Linked DNA regions of Homo sapiens: region 2 is linked to region 1. Evidence: promoter capture Hi-C in 16 types of primary human blood cells and fetal thymus (Javierre and others, 2016). All regions are on one chromosome and are shown on one strand. Each heading gives the region's core, a stretch centred on a gene start or on the middle of the fragment in contact. The rest is flanking DNA. Distances are from core to core; before and after follow the strand shown.

Region 1 (4,139 bases), core at 600-3,099:
GTTCAGGGTCGCTGTCCTTGGCAGTCACCATCCTCCGGGCAGTGAGGAGCTGAAAGACGAAGAAAAGCTCCAAGAAGAGGTTTGGTACCAGGTTCTCTAGATAGATACAAAAAGAAAGCCCATGGTATGGGCACCATTTGGAGCCAAGGCTCAGTTCCAAGTGCCTTACCAATTCTCTTACCCATAAGTTCTACAAGTGTCTCCACTCCCGCTCCCTCCGCTCTCACTCACCAGCAATGCACGAGGAGTAAACAAGGGCTACAAGCTCCAGGCGCTGGCGGGAAGACACTCTGGCAGGGTCTGCAGGTTCATCTGTGAGGCTTCCTGTCCGGCTGGGGAGGGGCGACCCCAATTCTGGGGTGGGACAGGTGGGGGTAGGTGACTGCTGCAGCTGCTTAGAGCTATGGAATAAAGAAATTTCATGAGCAGTCAGCTTGGCTTCCCTGCTACGGCCACACTCAGGTCACTCCAGAGAAGATACCAACAGCCCAGGAGACAAACCCAGAGTCCCCAAGAGGGAAATCAATTTCAGGGAAAACCCCTGAAGATCCCCCACAGCGAGGAAACCGATATCCCCAGGAGCGGCCAGGCCATACCGCTCCTTCCTGAGCATCTCTCGCTCCTCTTGCAGACTTCTGCACCCTGGGGGAAGGCCAAGGCCCCAAGGGCTAGTGTCCAGGGCTGAGGGTTGGGAACTGGGGACACAGCTGATTGGGGGTGAGGTGAAGCAGGTCTTGGGCTTGGAGAGTGACCGCTCTTCGCTCACCGGAGTTGGGTTGATCCTGCGAGAAGGCTTCGTCCTGCTGAGAGTAGCCACAGGTTTTTCTCAAATTCCTATCTTCAAACATCTCCCCTCCACCACCGCAACAGCTAGACCTCTTGCCAAAAAACCCCACAAAAACCCTCACCATCACCCCCAGCCTTCTACCCATCCTGGCGCTCCACTGCGGAGCGCCGAGCTCGAATGACTGACTCCCCAGAGCCTTCGTGGTACCCATCTCCTGCATGAGAGCTGAGTCTCACCCTGTAGGGCCGGGGGGAACCGAGCCTACGGGAGGGAACTCCTCCAGGTTGCTGAGGTTTGGCGGATCAGACAGCGTGAGGCTGGGGCGGCTGGGGCTGCCAGAGCCCCTAAGCCTCCGGCCCCCGGCTCCGGGCAGGCTCTCCCCGCTGACCCCCTCCTCCAGGCCGCGGCCTCCACGCTCGCGGGCCGGCCCCGGGCCCCGCCTCCTGCCCCCGCGGCGGGCCAGAGGGGCCTCGGCAGCGGTGCTCTGGGCCTCGGTCGGAGGGAAAAGCTGGCTGCGCGCCCCGCGGCTACCCCGCGGCGGGCCTCCCGGCCTCCCTGGCAAGGCTGCCGAGGCGCCCGGGGTCTTGGCGGGGGTCGGGGGCCCCTGCGGGAGGACGCGGCTGCTCTGCTCCCTCAGGAAGTTCAACAGGAACGGTACGAATTCTTTCCGCAGGGCCCGGAGTGAGCTCAGCGCGGCCGCCTCCCCAGCGTTATCCTAGGGCAGAAGCACAGGTGGAGGGGCGAGAGGGTCAGCCGCCGGCCCGCGGGCCGTGAGCAGCCGGGGCCGTAGGGCGCGCCTCGGGTGGGCGGCCCGGGCAGCGGCGCCCAGTTGGAGTGCACTCGGCCCGGCTGGCAGCCAGGCGCCCTAGAGGAAGGGGACTGGAGGGCTGGACTCCACTGCGGGAACCGGCTTCGAGTCAGACCTGGGGGCGTGTCACCGCTGTTACCTCCGAACCCTGGGTGCTGCGCGCGATCCACCGCACGACGGCTGCGACCGACACCTCTTCTCGCAGCAGCGACTCCAAAACGGCCGCCATCCCGGTCGGGGCGCTCTGGGGCGACTGCGCAGGCGCCGGCGCGCCGCGGGCGGCCAGGGAGGGGCGGGGCCGGCGGCGGGGAACGACCGTTGGGTCGCGGGATGGGGAGGGACCCGGCTGGCGGGGCGGGGCGGAGCCGGCTGTTGCCCAGACCCACGGAGTCAAGGCCTCGCTGAGTCCTCAACCCCGGCCGAGAGGCCGGTTGTTAGGAGGTGAAATGTGGATCACAGCGCCTGGGGAGGCCCACCTTGGCTGCCCGCCCTGGAGCGACCTGAAGGGAGGGATTCGAGCTGGGAGTGGGGCTGCCGCGGGTCGGACGCCCCTCTAGGGAGACCCAGGACCCGGGAGAGAGGTAGAGGGGAGCAGAGACAGCCACCAGCTTCTATCTTCTGCTCTAAGCACATTCTTTCACGAGTTTAAGTTTCCTAGATCCAACTGGCACCACCCCAGAGAAATTATAATCTAATCTTTCATTTTGACTTTGTTCTTCTCAAAGGCCGATTTTTCAATCCCTTGGCCGAGCAGTACCCATCGGCTTTTCAGCGCTCACCATCAACTGACCATTTAGGAAAGAATTATTTCTAGGAGGTTCTTAATAATCCCCAAGCCACAACCCTTAAAGTGCCTCGGGCCACCCTGCACACAGAATTGCTTGTATGTAGCTTTATTTACTTAAGTGGGTTTACATGAGGTTAATATTTCAACTACTTTGCAGTTTAGATGTCAGTAAGCATATCATGATTAGCTTCTGGGAGCTTGAGGTTTGTATTTTTGGGTTTGGTGTTTTTTGTTTTTGTTTTGTTTTTTTTGAGACAGGGTCTTGCTCTGTTGCCCAGGCTGGAGTGCAGTGGCGTGAGCACGGCTCACTGCAGCCTTGGCCTCCTGGGCTCAAGCAATCCTCCCGACTCAGCCTCCCTAGGGCTATAGCCCAGCTAATGTTTTGGCCGGGAGAGGGCAGCAGATCCAAAGTGCTGGGATTATAGGCGTGGGCCACCACGCCCGGCCTGAGTAATTTCTTAATCTCCTTTATTTAATTTTATTTTGAGATGGAGTCTCGCTCTGTCACCCCCGGGGCTGGAATGCAGTGGGAGGCAGAGGTGGGCGGATCACGAGGTCGAGAGATGGAGACCATCCTGGCCAACATGGTGAAACCGTGTCTCTAATAAAAATACAAAAATTAACTGGGCGTGGTGGCACGCGCCTGTAGTCCTAGCTACTGGGGAGGCTGAGGCAGGAGAATCGCTTGAACCTGGGAGGCGGAGGTTGCAGTGATCCAAGATCACGCCACTGCACTCCAGCCTGGGTGACAGAGCGAGACTCCATCTCAAAAACAAAACAAAACAAAAAAACCTGAGAGAGGATTTTGAAGGTTGCTGCTCAGTGACAAATCAAGCAAGGGAATCCAAGCGGAGAAAAACAGATGGCACGAACATTCCATGTCAAACCAAACCAGGAGGGGTGAGGCAGTGCCCTTGTGAATGCCTCCTGAGAGTTGCTCTGGTTCAAAGGAAGGTTACGGGCGGAAGGATGAGGGTGGGGGTGCAGGAATCTCTCTAGTGGCAGAAGGGGTATTTCCTATGGAGAAGGAAAAAGTACCTCCAGCCAGACAGAATAATGGACTAAAAAGGAGCTTTTAATATTTTAATTTTATTACAGGAAAACATCTCCTAACTGCAGGGACACTTAACACCTAGCTTCTATTCAGTCCTGGGCTGCTTTTTCTAGGGAACTTCTAGATGTGGTACTGCATTTACAGTAACACTATCTGCTCCCCGTTGATCTTGTAACATCTGGTGTATTCAATAACTTTATTAAATTAGAAAAATATTTTCCACTTTTGAAATCCAGACCATCACACAAACAGAACTAGATTTTGCATGCGGAATGAATATTTTATTACTAGGTTATAAAAATAAAATACAAAATAATTTTAAAACAGAACTTAAAACACTGTACAAAGCTTTAATATGATACAAATGGGAAAATTAAATAAATAATTACACTTTTATGTACAGGTGGCCTATACAAAAGCACTCCATGTTTCTGCCGATACTCTGTCCTTGGTTGCCTGAGCAAAATTGTATAAAGGGAGCTGCTTGGAGGGGAAAGGAACACAATAAAACGCCTCTGGAGGTATTTCAAAGAGTAGTTTCTCATCTCTCTGATTTCAGGAAGAGGAGAAGAGAGGGAGAGAAAAGTGGAATTATTAAAGTCATCTAACTCATTGGTCTTGTTCAACAAGAAAGAATTCTGGTTTGTGGCTGAATCTGATTTAACAGCTGCCAATAGCTCATTACTTCTAAGATGTATATCTA
Region 2 (4,059 bases), core at 550-3,049, 220 kb after region 1:
CAGAATCACATCTCCTAGTCTGATAACCTCAAGCCAGACAGAATATCAACTAGGGAAGTATGCCAGCTTTTCTGGTTAGAGCTGGCCTGAAACACTGCAGATTAAAAGAGCCACTACCACCCTGAAGGCACCTGGGACTTTTATGTCTCTTGGGAAATAGACATAAAAAAGGCTTGCGTACACATATATGGGGGATAAGTACTTTACAGATAAATTATAAAATAAACAGCTGGGATAAGGTAGTGGGTTTACTTGCTGTGGGTTCCCTAAAAATAGGTGTTTGGGTTTGGCTTCCATACATTCTTTCCCCTTGGTTCAAAAGATGCCTATGAACAATGATTACATATTTCACAGTTAGAAAGACATTTGGCTTTATGTAACAGAAACTGTGTTACATGAGGAGAGTGGAAAGAAAAAGGATATATATCCACTTTGAATTTTATTTCTCTGCAGGCAACTTAAACTCTTTTTTCATAAATATAAGTGACTATTTTTCTTTTTTTTCCCAGATAGAGTCTTGCTCTGTCAACCAGGCTGGAGTGCAGTGGTGTAATCTCGGCCTACTGCAACCTCCACCTCCCAGGTTCAAGCGAATTCTCCTGCCTCAACCTTCTGAGTAGCTTGGATTACAGGCATGCGCCACCACGCCCAGCTAATGTTTGTCTTCTTAGCAGAGATGGGGTTTCACCACGTTGGCCAGGCTGGTCTTGAACTCCTGACCTTGTGATCTACCTGCCTCGGGCCTCCCAAAGTGTTGGGATTAAAGGCGAGAGCCACCGCGCCCGGCCATAAGTGACTATTTTTCTATCCTCAATCTTTTGCTGAAAGACCAGGAGAAATGGTGGGTTGATAGATGAAATAAAGATATCACAGGACAATCTAAAGTAAAAATTTACATGTACTTTTTTTTTTGATAGAGGATCTCACTCTGTTGCCCAGGCTAGAATGCAATGGCACGATCATGGCCTTGAACTCCCAGGCTCAAGCAGCCCATCCACCTCAGCCTCTCAAGTAGCTGGGACTGCAGCCATGTGCTACCATGCCTGGCTAATTTTTTATAGAGATGGGGGTCTCGCCTTGCTGCCCAGGCTGATCTTGAACTCCTGACCTCAAGTGATCCTCTTGCCTCAGCCTCCCAAAGTGCTGGGATTATAGGCATAAGTCACTGTGCCTGGCCTACATGTACCTTTTATTTGTTTATTTTTATTTATTTTAAAGAGCTCATCTTCCAGGAAGAGTACTTTTTAAATACAAGTTTTAGGACTTGAAGTTCTTTCATTACACCTGAGTATTATATAATACCAGAGCAATTAATACAAACTCTATCCTATTTAAGATTTTCCATAAATAATGGAAATGTGAACAGAAACTTATTCTTTTTTCACAGTATCTTCTCAAATGCAATTTCATGTCAATAACAGGTTAATACTCTAACTTCTGATTGATTATTTGCTATCAACACACTGTCCCACCATAGTGACCCCCAGATTGGATCCAGATTCCTTAAGTTCATCATGAAGCTTCCAGAACACTCACTACTCACTTTAGGAAAATGCAGACTCCGGCTCCACAGTGAAGTGCGTGAAAAATGCAAGCTCCAACCTCTTCCCCGTTCACAATTTCCTGGCAGCAAATGTTCTGAGAACATAGTATAGCCCCACAGAAAAGGCAGAGGACAGGATGCTTTCGCTCATCATCTGCAGACCGTGGGCACCTCAAAAGAGAAGAAAACATTTAGAGAATGATGGAAAAACAAAACAAAACAAATAAGTACCATATATCCTGTTAGCAATCAAGCATGTTTTCATCACTGACCCCTTTCCAGCAAGGAAGCTCTTAAAACACAAGGAAACATTTAATTAGCCAATTCCTCTTTAATATGCCCCCTAAAAGGGCTTCATGGAAAATCTTCCAATTAATCCATAGTAAGAAAATCTATATTACATAAATGGTGTCCTGATAATTCTCATAAAGTATGGTGGTTGAATATGCCTTGTGATTGAGATTCACTGATAGACTCCAGTCTTCATCTGACATGCCCAATTTACAGTTACCTGCCTCCTCTGTATTGTGTTAGTCAAGCTTGTGTCTTCGATGTTGAAGGAATATGACCTTGTAAGTATGCAATTGTTTAAAAGAAAAAAAATTAAAATTTACAGTAAGGGTCCAAACACATTCCCCCCATTTCTTTTCTTTTCTTTTTTTTTTTGAGACAGTCTTGCTCTGTCACCCAGGCTGGAGTGCAATGGCATGATCTCGGCTCACTGCAACCTCGGCCTCCCCGGTCCAAGCAATTCTCCTGCCTCAGCCTCCCGAGTAGCTGGGACTGAAATGAGAGATTGTAGCCTTTGAGTTGGCCCAGCCTTCCATCTGGGAATCACAGTAAGTCTTAGGAAGGAAAAAGTGATAGTGCTGACTTGCTTGAGTCAACTAGTGTTTTATGATGAGACCATTTTACATAGTATGCTGGAGGCGTGCTATAATGCCCCACCAAGGGGGATAATGGTTATCTTTTAAAAAGGAGTTTCCCATGCTCCTCCCATCTATGCTGTACACTGAACACAATGGGAAATATCAAATTCCTTAATTTGGGAAGTAGAAGATAAATGCAACCGAAGGAGAGATCCAACTAGGCCCACACTGGGGTCGGAATAAAGAAGATCAGAAAGAATCTCCAATAGGGTACTGACAGCCTTTTTTCTGATCCCCAGTTTCTCAGACAGGATAAAAAACAAAACAAAAAACACCTGTCTCCATAGGAGCAGAGGGACTCTGCGCATAGGATGAGAGGACTATTTTCACTTCCGGGAGGTTGCTCCAGAACATAATTATAGCCCTTTTTGGATAAAGCCAACATCTTCTTTCATCTTTAACACAGGATGGCTGAGTCTGAGTCATTAGACATCCTACAGAGGAAAAGCTGGGAGGGAGCCTAAAGTATATGACTGAGCAGCCACCCTCCAACACTAGGGATGGTTCTGTCTTATGGAAATTGGTGGTGACAATAAAACTGGAAGACATCATAGGATTGATTTTCATTCTTATGTGAAATCATAAGTGGTAATATCATCCAGAAGGATCCTCATTGTGATTAATAAAGACCAACACTCTCCACAGATCCTCCGAGGAGCCAACAACTTGATATTCTTTTTTTTTTTTTTTTTTTGAGACAGGGTCTGGCTCTGTCACCCAGGCTGAAGTCCAGTGTCACAGTCACGGCTCACTGCTGCCTCAACCTCCTCGGCTCAAGTGATCTTCTCTCCTCAGCATCCCGAGTAGCTGAGACTACAGGCACATGCCACCAAGCCTAGCTAATTATTTTGTATTTTTTGTAGAGACAGGGTCTCCCCATGTTGCCTAGGCTGGTCTTGAACTCCTGAGTTCAAGAGATTCACCCACCTCAGCCTCCCAAAGTGCTGGGGTTACAGACATGAGCCACTGTACTCAGCCAACCTGGTATTCTTAATGCCTGGAAGATAATATCTATTCACCAGGCTTTTGTGGTAGCAATGTAGCCCCAAGATTAGGAAAATTACTGAATTTAGAGATGGATGCAATCTTTGAAACTAATTAGCTAATTGTTTGAGGGCTGAAAGGTAAAGTGACCCAACCATTCCTTTAGATGATTGACTAGAAAGGGAGCTAGAACAGGAAGGTCAATTTTATACTGTAACAGTGGCTAGGGTGTGAGCTACTGAAGACCCTATTGGGCCAGTTAACTTCCCCAACTTCATGGCTTAAAACAATGGTTATAACTAGATAAGAGAATTTCCTGAGTCATTCCGCAGGGCAGTGATTCTCAGAGCGAGTCAAAGAGGGGCTCTTTAAGACCTCAAATGATCTTTTATTTTTTGAGACAGTCTTACTCTGTTGCCCAGGCTGAAGTGCAGTGGTGTGACCTCAGCTCACTGCAACCTGTGCCTGCACGTTGAAGTGACTCTCGTGCCTCAGCCTCCTGAGTAGCTGGAACTACAGGATGCGCCAACATACCTGGCTAATTTTTTTTGTATTTTTAGTAGAGATAGCATTTTGCCATGTTGGCCAGGCTGGTCTCAAACT

The links. The method cuts DNA at HindIII sites, captures the fragments that hold promoters and counts their contacts. A CHiCAGO score of 5 or more calls a contact.
Region 2: a fragment that was not itself captured here is called in contact with the fragment with the promoter of CDAN1 in region 1 in 1 of 17 cell types (endothelial precursors); the score reaches 6.5 in endothelial precursors.

The regions. Positions count from the first base shown.
Region 1 is chr15:42,735,279-42,739,417 of GRCh38, forward strand. CDAN1 (codanin 1) reads right to left here and starts at 1,850. Exons shown (of 28, transcript NM_138477.4): 1 at 1,735-1,850; 2 at 1,024-1,502; 3 at 597-800; 4 at 232-401; 5 at 1-96. The coding sequence starts at 1,824. TTBK2 (tau tubulin kinase 2) reads right to left here. Exons shown (of 15, transcript NM_173500.4): 15 at 3,452-4,139. TTBK2-AS1 (TTBK2 antisense RNA 1) reads left to right here and starts at 3,840. Exons shown (of 3, transcript NR_186317.1): 1 at 3,840-3,957. RefSeq lists silencers at 1,077-1,366, 1,457-1,596, 1,787-2,036. The HindIII fragment of the contact is 7,008 bases long and covers 1-3,782 here.
Region 2 is chr15:42,950,735-42,954,793 of GRCh38, forward strand. UBR1 (ubiquitin protein ligase E3 component n-recognin 1) reads right to left here. Exons shown (of 47, transcript NM_174916.3): 45 at 1,544-1,714. Among named protein-coding and RNA genes, the nearest start is that of TTBK2, 32 kb to the left of the region's middle. The HindIII fragment of the contact is 562 bases long and covers 1,519-2,080 here.